Linked DNA regions of Homo sapiens: regions 2 and 3 are each linked to region 1. Evidence: promoter capture Hi-C in 16 types of primary human blood cells and fetal thymus (Javierre and others, 2016). All regions are on one chromosome and are shown on one strand. The core of a region is centred on a gene start or on the middle of the fragment in contact, and the rest is flanking DNA. Distances in the headings are between cores, read along the strand shown.

Evidence for each region. The method cuts DNA at HindIII sites, captures the fragments that hold promoters and counts their contacts. A CHiCAGO score of 5 or more calls a contact.
Region 2: a contact is called between a fragment that was not itself captured here and the fragment with the promoter of TMEM60 in region 1, in 1 of 17 cell types (neutrophils). The highest score is 5.1, in neutrophils.
Region 3: a contact is called between a fragment that was not itself captured here and the fragment with the promoter of TMEM60 in region 1, in 1 of 17 cell types (neutrophils). The highest score is 5.1, in neutrophils.

The regions. Positions count from the first base shown.
Region 1 is chr7:77,796,894-77,800,833 of GRCh38, forward strand. TMEM60 (transmembrane protein 60) reads right to left here and starts at 1,541. Exons shown (of 2, transcript NM_032936.4): 1 at 1,361-1,541. PHTF2 (putative homeodomain transcription factor 2) reads left to right here and starts at 1,880. Exons shown (of 19, transcript NM_001395272.1): 1 at 1,880-2,078. RefSeq lists an enhancer at 1,301-1,410 and a silencer at 1,821-1,960. The HindIII fragment of the contact is 8,213 bases long and covers 385-3,940 here.
Region 2 is chr7:76,318,906-76,322,461 of GRCh38, forward strand. FPASL (fibroblast proliferation associated lncRNA) reads left to right here. Exons shown (of 2, transcript NR_186616.1): 1 at 1-1,542; 2 at 2,814-3,381. Among named protein-coding and RNA genes, the nearest start is that of FPASL, 2.4 kb to the left of the region's middle. RefSeq lists an enhancer at 1-205. The HindIII fragment of the contact is 7,938 bases long and covers 1-3,556 here.
Region 3 is chr7:76,288,904-76,292,853 of GRCh38, forward strand. No RefSeq gene overlaps it. Among named protein-coding and RNA genes, the nearest start is that of HSPB1, 12 kb to the right of the region's middle. RefSeq lists enhancers at 1,337-1,852, 2,509-2,818, 2,885-3,400 and a cis regulatory region at 2,493-3,261. The HindIII fragment of the contact is 3,173 bases long and covers 461-3,633 here.

The DNA of each region.
Region 1 (3,940 bases), core at 291-2,790:
AGAGGACACATCTGTTCTATTTCAACAGTTAAGTATTAGTCTCCTAACTCACCTCTTTTCCCTTATACCCATCTAGTGGCACTTAAACTTGTTTACTTAATTGGCAAAGGCTTCATACTGCAGTAATTTTGCTTCTAAGGAGGCATTTTTCTGTGTTGGTTTCCTTTCCCGGCCAGAGGCTGCCATAGAGTGGGATGTGGGACTGAATTTGGAAGCAGGGTTGGAGGGGTGTGTGTTGATTAATAACCATGGATGGATTTCATCCCGTAAATTGCACAATCCCCACCTCCAATCTATCAGGCCGTTTTTGTGAACCTCTGAAAAACGGTTTATGATTATACACTTGCTTAAACCTAACTGTTCCATCTGCTATCGGATAAGACAAGCTTCATTTTTTTCTTACATTTGGCTGTACTTACCACAGGTGCTTTAGGGCTGGAGGTGAAAGGATGCAAGTAACAATCTTATTGTGCCTACAAGATTTATAATGTGGGATGCAACAAAATTCTGTTATGTTCTTGCACGGAAATACCCTCAATGGGGAAGCACTGCTGATACTTAAATGACGATTGAAGGATTGTACGCCTGTATGCTGAGCTACAACGATGACATACGATCCCAGTTTTACATTTACGTCTTCATCAATTTGAGCAGTCGTTATGTTTCCTACTATTCTCTCCACAAGAAAGGGGGAGGTGCGTACTCCAAAAATGTGCTCAACTAAAATGTTTCCCATTTAAGGTGGTTATTTCTGGCACTAGGAAGACAGTTAAATATTTGTTAATGATTCCTTACTCATTTTTAAAACCTTCGGAGTTACCCCTGTATGGACATATATAGAGCCCCACCCACATAGCCCACGGCTGGGTATCAGCCCCCATTTCCCTTCTCTCGCCACTGCCAGTAGTCTACCAAGTGAACCTGCCTCATCCCAAAGATAATTTTGCTTCATGAGCCCACATATTTATTCTTCTTCATAATGAGTCGCTTTTGAAAAGCCCGTGCAGCAACAGCCTTGGCCAAAGGAACAGCGTTCTGCTTACAACTTAGCTCATCTGGGGGCCTATTTGCCCCTGGAACTTCAGGACGCTCCTAAACTATACTTGCCCTTCTGCAAACACCGACAGTCGGCTCGCGGCGCCCCACCGGGACGCTCCCCTTTCATGGGCTGTAAGCCCAGCACATGCTGGAGTTTAACACGGTTCCTGCTGGATGCGCACAGAAGCCCTGGAGCCAAGCAGGCGTGTGCGCGTTTGGGGCTGGCTGTGTGATGGGTTGAGGGTCGGCCGCACAGCCCACGGAAGCATCAGGAGACCAGCGCCGGCGTACGGTGCGGGCTAGGGCAGAGCCCCAGACTCACCTGGCAGCGCTGCCGGCCGGAAAGCGGAGAGGGACGCGAAGATCAGCAAATTCGCCAGTTTGGATCCTTGTCCTTTTCCGCCCTTTTCCCCCCATTAAATCCAGAACCCGTCACATGATAATTAAGAAAAAACTTCAGTTCCGCCTCCTCAAACGACTGCGGTAGAGGATCTCTCAGTTCTACCTCAGTGCCGCGCCCACATCCGGGGCTGGTTCTCACCGCCCCTGAGCCTACCCTATAGGTAGAGAGGACGCCAATCTGGATTCAGAGGTCCCTTTTCCGCGGTAATTGGACCATTTGTCCGCCAGTGCAAACCAACCGACCTTTCCTTACTTTCGGGTTCGACAGAAAGGCGGCAATAAAAAGACCCATTGGTCCCGCCTCTCTACTGTCACGGGTTAGTAGGGAAGTCAGTCCAAGATCAGCCTGGAGTTTCCGTGCTCCCATTGGGCCCACAGATGTTAATCAGAGCAGCCGGCGCTCAGCTCCGCCCTCTCGGGACGCCCCGCCCCTCCTCCCATCCTCCCTGCCCGCGCGCAGTGACTGCAGGCTCCGGCGCAAAATCCTGCGGGAGAGGGGGTGGGGCAACCCTCTGGAGGCAGCGCGCCCGCGGGCAGCCTCGTTGTGGCTCCTTGGGCTCTGTTGGCGGCGGCGCTAGCTTCGGAGTCTCCCGCGCGCACCTCAGCCGCCTCCTAGCGGCGCGGCGCTCGCTCCTACGGTAAGAGCGGCATCACCTCCGCGCTCGGGTGGGCAGTGTGGAGGTCGTCGAGTTCTGACAGAATTTCGAGGATGGATCGGGACGAGGGAGGAGAGCGGTCGTCGGGATGGAGGTGGGGGCTCCGGGGCCAACGCGTCGCCCTCCGTCGCCGGCGACTTTCCCGGCAGTCTCCCGTACCTGAGGGCCGGGGTCAGCCGCGACCCCTTCTCATCAGTCGGCCGGTGGCGGAGGCTCAGCCGCCTTCCTCCCGAGCTCGCGCGGTCCTCAAGTCTTGATGGTGACGGGCCGAAGCCCAGCGCGCCACCCGCCCCTCGGGCCCCGCTTCCAGGCCCCTGTCCTTTGCTTCCTTCCCTTGGCGCTGTGCTGAGGGGTCGTCGGGTCCTGGAAGGGCGTTCAGGGGTCTCGGGTGGCTAGCCCGGCTGGCGGGGAGATGTCAGCTAGCGGCCGGAGGAGCGGGCTCGGGAGGGGGCGGCGGCTCGCGCGCTGGAGGAGGTGGAAGGAGGGTCGCTGCCCTGCCCCCTCTGAGCAGGCGGCAGTCGAGTTTTCTGATCCCAACACGGCGGAGTGGGTGCTTAAGGCATGGGCCTTAAGGGATAGTTCCCGTCTGGAAACAATACCGTGCTCCATCAGCATGCTTCAGCTTTTCTTATTTTTATCTGCCCAGTGTTGACAGCCAGCATTCTGGTATTGTCCTTCGAGTCATGGCTTTCTAACTCAGCACCTCCTTGTGTAACTTCAGGGATCATTCTGTCACTAATCTGTCACCCTTCTTATTTTTAGCGTGGCGAAAACAAGGAACTGCCTTATACTAACCTGGGCAGTGCAGAATCTGGAACAATTTATTAATCTCAGTGTGTACTTTACATGCCAAGTAATTTTGAAATTCATGGTGAATATTAAATATTTTGTAGTTTTCGGTTGCTTTCTTTGTTAATAGTATATCCTCCTTGCTTTGAGACTACTTTTCAGGTGTGATACTTTAATCTTAAGGTTTTTGGTTAGCTTTTGCCATTTTTAAACGTTTCTTTCATTTTTTTTTTCTCCAAGACTTTGGCAAGAGACTTAGTATTTGATCTTGTTTTCAGGTATTTTTGTAAAGTTTATTTTCTTTCAAACTGGGCTTTTTTCACCATATTTTTAATATTGGAAGGGGAATTCTGAAAGTCTGGAAACTGCACACTTTAGCCTAAAGAGTCACAAAACAGTATAACAATTTGAAATCCTAACTTGGATATGGTGTATGGACTGCAAATTTTAAGAGAAGGAAATGGATATGCGTTATCAGTTGTAGTGGCTCCACCTCCATAACGTAGAGGAGAGGAATCTGGAGGTCTGCGGAGAATGAGCCATGTCTGGGGCCAGAAACAGTGGTTCCAGGAAATATTTTTGCCCCAGAAATAGCCTGCCTCCCACACAGACTGGCTGTCTGAATGCATCTGATAGTTTTAAGTTAGGTGTTAGTGAGGTGGAGAGTTTTCGTGTTCCAATTTTGACCACTTTCTGGTGGAGCATGAAAATGTGGTGAGTAAACAAGTATAGTATACAATGGGGGCACTCTTGCATAGATAGTCAAGCCTCCAAGAGTAAACTTTTTTTGAGCCCAAACTGGCACTGGACAGTTGGCCCTAAAAATGAAGAAGGTGGCCCACCCAATTTTTAAACCATGAACTTTTTTTGGCTGGTCCATTTAATGCAAAATTGCAAGGAATATGTAATGAAAAAAACCTTCACTAAACTGAAGAGAATTTAGGGTGTCATGTGGATAAAATGAAACTCGAAAATAGTTGGACTACTTGTATATTATTTAATCATTTTAGTCCTGTGAGATGGGTACTGATTACTGTCATTTTATAGATGAGCAA
Region 2 (3,556 bases), core at 706-3,205, 1.5 Mb before region 1:
GTGGCCCCGCCCCAGCAGCGGGAGGTGGCATCTGTTTGACCTTGGAGACTTGGACGGTATTTAGGGAGATTACATGAAAAAAAGACTCACCCCACAATGCTTGCAGTCAGCTACAAGCTGCCTTGTCCTTCATACCTTTTAGCCTTTATTTCCTGAGTCTATCTTGTCTGTTTCTAATGTAGTCTCCTGATTTAGGGCAAGAGAATATTTCTCACTCTTGGTCTGCCCACTACCCACAATCCTTGTCCGAGGATTTACTCGGCAAACTTAGCAGGCAAAACCCCTTGTCAACTTAACACTAAAAAATACCGTCTCTTGGAAGGCAGTCTGCTTTGATAAACCTAATGGAATAAAAAGTGAGTTTGCTATCTGGCTTTAAAGAACATAACCCAGCTGGGCATGGTGGCTCACACCTGTAATCCCAACACTTTGGGAGACCGAGGCAGGAGGATCGCTTAAGCCCAGGCGTTCAAGACCAGCCTGGGCAACATAGTATAGTAAAACCCAGTCTCTACAAAAAGAATTTAAAAATTAGCCAGGCCAGATAGCCCAGCTACTTGGGACGCTGAAACAGGATTGCTTTGAGTCCAGCAGGTGGAGGCTGCAGTGAGCTATGACTGCACCACTGCACTCCAGCCTGGTCAACAGAGCGAGATCCTGTCTCAAAACAAAACAAAAAAACTGACAACCAATGAAACCTCATCTCTAAAATCTGGCTTCAGGTTAAGTGAGTAAAAAGAGGCTTTCTTGTGGCCAGGCACGGTGGCTTATGCCTGGTAATCCCAGCACTTTGGGAGGCCAAGGCGGGCGGATCACGAGGTCAGGAGTTCAAGACCAGCCTGGCCAACATAGTGAAACCCTGTTTCTACTAAAAATACAAAAAAATTAGCCAGGCATGGTGGTGGATGCCTGTAATCCCAGCTACTCGGGAGGCTGAGGCAGGAGAATCAACGTGAACCCAGGAGGCGGAGGTTGCAGTGAGCTGGTATCACGCCATTGCACTCCAACCCCGGGCAATAGTGCGAGACTCCGTCTCAAAAAAAAAAAAGGCTTTCATTTATCTTCTCAGCTCCTACAAGCCAATGAGTGGTAGGGTAATTTGCCGACCACAGTGGGAAGAACTAATTTAACACCAAGATTGTGATTCCCCTAGTGTAGATCCAGTATGAAAGAAGTGTCTCAGGCATGCTTCTGGTTCCTGAGTTAACTCTAGTGAATAAGGTGGGCTGTGCTGTCTCCCCACCTCCCCCAGGCATAGGGGCAGAACAGCTGCAGACCACCAGGACCCAGTGGGCCAAGTGAGGATGTGAGTCAAAGCCAGTGCTTATTAAACCACCTAATACTGTACTTTTCCCATCCAGGGGAGGCAGGAGAGGATTGAGGAGGCAAATCCCCGAGCCCAGAAGACTCCAGTCAGAAAACAAGATGGTCCCCATGGGTAGTGGCCAATCCCTCTGGCCTTTCAGAGCAGTGGCTTTGGCCTTGTCCGCTTAGGTAACAGGCTCTGCTGCTGGTAGTTGCTTAAGAGCACAGAGTAGCCGGGCGTGGTGGCTCACGCCTGTAATCCCAGCACTTTGGGAGGCCGAGGTGGGTGGATCACAAGGTCAGGAGATCGAGACCATCCTGGCTAACATGGTGCAATCCCGTCTCTACTAAAAATACAAAAAATTAGCCGAGCGTGGTGGTGGGTGCCTGTAGTCCCAGCTACTTGGGAGGCTGAGGCAGGAGAATGGTGTGAACCCAGGAGGCGGAGCTTGCCGAGAGCCAAGATCGCACCACTGCACTCCAGCCTGGGTGACACAGCGAGACTCCATCTCAAAAAAAAAACAAAAAAAAAAAAACACAGAGTGAACCAGTGAGAAGGTTAAATGGAGGAGAAAGCAAAGTTCTTAAGACAAAAAAAGTACCCCAACAAGGGCAGGAAACAAGCTAAATGACATAGGCACAGACAACTGGACAAACCCAGAACGTGGGGCCTTGAGACTGTCAAGTAGCCTGGTCTCAAGCCATTATCAGGCCCAGGCGTGGTGGCTCATGCCCATTAATTCTAACACTTTGGGAGGCCAAGGTGAGAGGATCACTTGAGGCCAGAAATTCAGGAACAGCCTAGACAACATACCCATCTTTACAAAAAATAAAAATAGATTTATTGGAAGGCCATGTTGAAAAAAAAAAAAGAAAAAAATTAGCCGGAAGTGGTAGTGCAGCCCTGTGGTCCCAGCTACTCGGGAGACTGAGTTGGGAGGACTGTTTGAGTCCATGAGTTGGAGGCTGCAGTGAGCTCTGATTGTCCAAAGCACTCCAACCAGGGCAACTGAGACCCTGTCTCTTAAAAAAAAAAAAAAATAGGCAAAGAAATCTAATATTGAAATGCAATTAATGAATTTTAATTGGAGTCTAGGTGGTGCGGGAGGGGGATTGGAAAAAGCTATCAAATGCATTCTGAGGACAATTTGGAGAAATTTGCATATGGGCTGATATTAGGGAATTATTAATTGGGTGATAACAGTATGGCGGTTATATTAGAGAATGTCCTTTTTTTTTTTTTTTTTTGAGACAGGGTCTCACGGTTGCCCAGGTTGGAGTGCAGTGGCGTGATGTCAGCTCACTGCAACCTCTGCCTCCTGGGTTTAAGCAATTCTTGTGTCTCAGCTTCCCAAGTAGCTGGGACTACAGGCACGAGCCACCACACCCAGTTAATTTTTTTGTATTTTTAGCAGAGACAGGGTTTCGCCATGTTGGCCAGGCTGGTCTCGAACTGCTGACCTCAGGTGATCCGCCCGCCTCGGCCTCCCAAAGTGGTGGGATTACAGGCGTGAGCCACTGCGCCTGGCCGAGAATGTCCTTTTTGTAAGGAGAAATATGAACATTGGGAGTAAAATGCCAACAGTGACTTTCAAGGTTCCACAACCCATAGAGGAATTTATCTGCCATATCAAGGAGTGGGTCTGTAGCCAATCACTGTAACGTTCTTTTCAATTTTTGTGTTTGGGATTCAAGTGCCCCAATACCACCTAACTACCCTTTAAATGGAATTAAATATTCTAATTCAAGATATCTGTTTTGGGACCACCAAATTTCAACTATCTATATTTAAAATCACAAGGCCAGAGTCACATCAGTGCTCAAAGGCAGCAAAAATCCTATTTCAAGCTCAACCAAATTAGAAGAATGGATGGCAGTAGTTACCTCTAAGAATGGCAATTAATGGGTGATCAGGTAATGGGCATGCTGGGAAGAGTTTCTGATAAACCAGGGGTCTGCAAACTACTGGCCAGAGGGTAAATATGTCAAGCATTGTGGGCTGTATACGGCCGCCTCACACTTTTGTAACGTGTGTGCACTGCCAATTCAAAAAATAAAAACCAGCTGGGCACAGTGGCTCATGTCTGTAATCCCAGCACTTTGGGAGGCTGAGATGGGAGGATTGCCTGAGGCCAGGAGTTCAAGACCAGCCTGGGCAGTATAGCAAGACCTCAATTCTACAAACAATCCAAAAATTAGCCAGGTGTGTGTGGTGGTGGTACGCACCTATGGTCCCGGCGACTCAGAAGGC
Region 3 (3,950 bases), core at 797-3,296, 1.5 Mb before region 1:
TCCAGCCTAGGTGTCAGAGCGAGACTCTGTCTCAAAAAAAAAAAAACAAACTTGGAGACCAGGTCTCACTCAGTTGCCCAGGCTGGAGTGCAGTGACACGATCTCCATTCACTGTAGCCTTGACCTCCTGGGCTCAAGCAATCCTCCTACCTCAGCCTCCCTAATAGTTGGGACTACAGGTATGCACCACCATACCCAGCTAATTTTTGTATTTTTTTTTTGGTAGAGACAGGGTTTCACCATGTTGCCCAGGCTGGTCTCGAACTTCTGAGCTCAAGCAATCCTCCCAAAGTGCTGAGATTACAAGCATGAGCCACCGCTCCTGGCCTGTATTTCTTTCTTTTATTAGATCTAAAGAAATACACAATTCCTCCTCCTCCCCCTCTTTCTTGCCTCTAGCCTCTCTCTCCTCCTTCCCCTTCTTCTCCGTCATTTCTCTCTCTTAGAGTGGTGGGTTTTAAGCTTGTTTTGAATCAGGTCTTCTTCGAGAATCTGATGAAGGCTGAGAACCCTCCCAGAAGAATGTGCGCATGCCTGCAGTGTGGCTTGTAACACTGGATCTATCACACACATACTCACTCTGAAGGCTTTTAGCGTCCCACCGGTTAAGAACCCTGGTCCACCTCCAATGAGGGTGCGGCTGAGGTGGCCCCTGCTCCCACTTCTGTGTGGGCCATGACATAGGTGTCCTTGGCCCAGTCCCCAGAGCTGGGGCTGTGTCATGACATGACCCCATTCCAGCTTCTTTTCCCCAAAACTAGAAGGGGCACCTGACCAGTGGCTCTGTTTCCTATCCACGGAAGCTGTTCACAGAAGCCCTGGTGATTGGCCAGGTGCGGTGGCTCACGCCTGTAATCCCAGGCCTTTGGGGGGTCGAGGCAAGTGGCTCACTTGAGACCAGAATGGCCAACATGGTGAAACCCCGTCTCTACTAAAAATACAAAAAATTAGACAGGCGTGGTGGTGGGCGCCTGTAATCCCAGCCACTCTGGAGGCTGAGGCAGGAGAATCACCTGAACCTGGAAGGCAGAGGTTGCAGTGAGCCGAGATCCTGCCATTGCATTCCAGCCTGGGCAATAAGAGTGAAACTCCGTCTCTCTCTCTCTCCTCTCTCTCTCTCTCTCTCTCTCTCTCTCACACACACACACACACACACACAAAGAAAGAAAGAAAAAAAGATAACAAAAAGAAGCCCTCGTGATCTCTGTAACCCTTTCTAACAAGTTCAACAAAACGCCTCAAGGCAAGGGGCTGGGCTACGGGGAAGCAGACTTGGCCCTGTGCTAGAGATGCGTGAAACACATCTGCACATCTGAGTGGCAGCACAGTTGAGGTTGTCCTGCAACTCAGCCTGTCTCACACTGAGCATGGCACTGGGCCTAGGGACTCTGCTGTCTGGCTGCTCCGTCCCCCAACCTCCCATCCCATTCCGTCACTGCCCAGCCTGACTGCCTTCTGCACGCCACAGCCAGGCTGCTCCCAGCCATTGCAATTGCTTCCTTCCCACCCCACCTCAGCACCTGGCCCTACCGGCCTCCTCACTGGCCAGCCTGCCTCATTGCCTTCTCCAATCCCTCCTGCTTTTTTCTTTTCTTTCCTTTTTTTTTTTTTTTTTTTTTTTGCGACAGGGTCTCACTCTGTCGCTCAGGCTAGAGTGCAGTGGCACCATTATGGCTCACTGCAGCCTTGATCTCCTGGTCTCAAGAGATCTTCCTGCCTCAGCCTCCTGAGTAGCTGGGACTACGAGTGCACTCCACTACGCCGTTAATTTTTGCTTTTTTGTTTTCTTGTTTTTGTTTTGAGACAGAGTCTCGCTCTGTCACCCAGGCTGGAGTGCAGTGGCACAATCTCGGCTCACTGCAACCTTCGCCTCCTGGGTTCAAGCAATTCTCCTGCTTCAGCCTCCTGAGTAGCTGGGATTATAGGCATGCACCACCACACCCAGCTAGTTTTTGTGTTTTTAGTAGAGATGAGGTTTCACCATGTTGGCCAGGCTGGTCTCAAACTCCTGACTTCAAGTGATCCACCCACCTCGACCTCCCAAAGTGCTGGGATTACAGGCATGAGCCACTGCACCCGGCCATTATTTTTTGTACAGACGGGATCTCGCTATGTTGCCCAGGCTGGTCTCACACTCCTGGCCTAGAGCGATCCTCCTGCCTCAGTCTCCCAAAGCACTGGGATTCCAGGCATGAACCACCATGCCTGACCACTCCCATTATTTCTAACATGCAGATCTGAACACCCATTCACTCATTCCACAAATACTTATTGAACAATTCCTATGTCCCCTGCAGAGTGGCTGGCTCTGAGGACACAGTACTGAATAAATGAGACAGAACTCCTTGCCATGCAGAACCTGCCTCCTGAGGCCACATCCACCAGCTCACAGGCCTTGGAAGGCCTTCTGAGTGACTCCACCTGGCACGTGCCATCCTTGGCTCCTCCCAGGGCGCCCTCCCACCTTATCTCCCATCGCTGCCCTTGATTCCAATACCCCGAGCCCAGCTGGCGCCCCTCATGCCCTCTCTGCCTCCACGGGTTCAGGTGAGCTCACAGGCCAAGGCCCAGCTCAGCCACCTCCTCCTCCATGCGGCCTTCCTGATGTGCAGCTGCCGTGACTACTCCTGTCTCTGGGGTTCTCTGGGAGCCTGTGTTTAGGGCCCAGTCTCTTCTTCCAGTGATTTATTTGCTAGCATGTTTATCTCTCCCCAAAGCTCTGAGCTTCTGGAGGCCAGGACATGTCTTCCTTGTCTCTGCATCGCCCACGTAGGCCACTTTGAAATGTTTGTTGAATGAGTCATCGAGTGAAGGAAGGAACCCGCAGAGGAACGGTTGCAGAAACTTTGGGGGAGGCCTGGGCACCAAAGGCGAGGCGTGGTGGCGGAAAGCCGACACTAGAGGGCGACAGAGAGTAAGGGAAAAAATGCAGCCAGGACCAACAGGCTTGGAGCAGAGAGATGCCTGGGCCAGGGCTCGTCCCAGCCTGGAAGCCCCAAGCCTTCGTCCTCCATGCCTGCCCTGGCTTCGTGGGGAAGGGGTGGGGAGCATACCAGCCCCCCCCCCGCCCCACCCCGTCTGAACTCAGTCAGCCGACTGAACTCTGCTCTATACCCTGGGGAAAGGGAAGAATAGGACCAGGACGGCCGGCAGGAAAACAGGAAACTCCAGTCCCAGAGCAGCGGGCAGAAGACCGTCCCCAGGATGTGGGCACTTCTCGCCAGAGGGTCCTGAGCCTGGGGCGCACTCTTCTGGTTTGGGGTAAACTTGGTCCTCTCGTGGTCTCTCTCTCTTCAGATAGGGCCCAGGGGAGCCCCCACTCCATACCACGTTTTTCCTTCCAACACATACAGCAGCCAGGAGGCCGGACAGAGCTTTCCGGTTTCCTGTTTTCACAACTGTATTTTCCCCTTTCTCCTTAATCAGTTTCCTACAGCCCCAGACAGGGTGACAGGCCACAGGGCACCTGCCCAGCTTGGCTGTCCCAGCCTGTCCCCCATCCCCTCACCACCCCCAACTTTTTTTTTTTTTTTTTTGAGACAGAGTCTCGTTGTGTCACCCGGGCTGGAGTGCAGTGAGTGGTGCAATCTCAGCTCACTACAACCCCCACCTCCCAGGTTCAAGCAATTCTCAAGCTTCAGCCTCCTAAGAGCTGGGACTTTGGGTTTGCACCACCATGCCCGGCTAATTTTTGTAGGTTTTTTTTTTTCTTTTGAGATGGAGTTTCACTCTTGTCGCCAGGCTGGAGTGCAATGGCACGATCTCGGCTCACTGCAACCTCCACCTCCCGGGTTAAAGTGACTCTCCTGCCTCAGTCTCCTGAGTAGCTGAGATTACAGGTGTGCACCACCACACCTGGCTAATTTTTGTATTTTTAGTAGAGATGGGATTTCACCATGTTGGCCAGGCTGGTCTCGAACCCCTGACCTCAGGTGATCTGCCCACCTCAG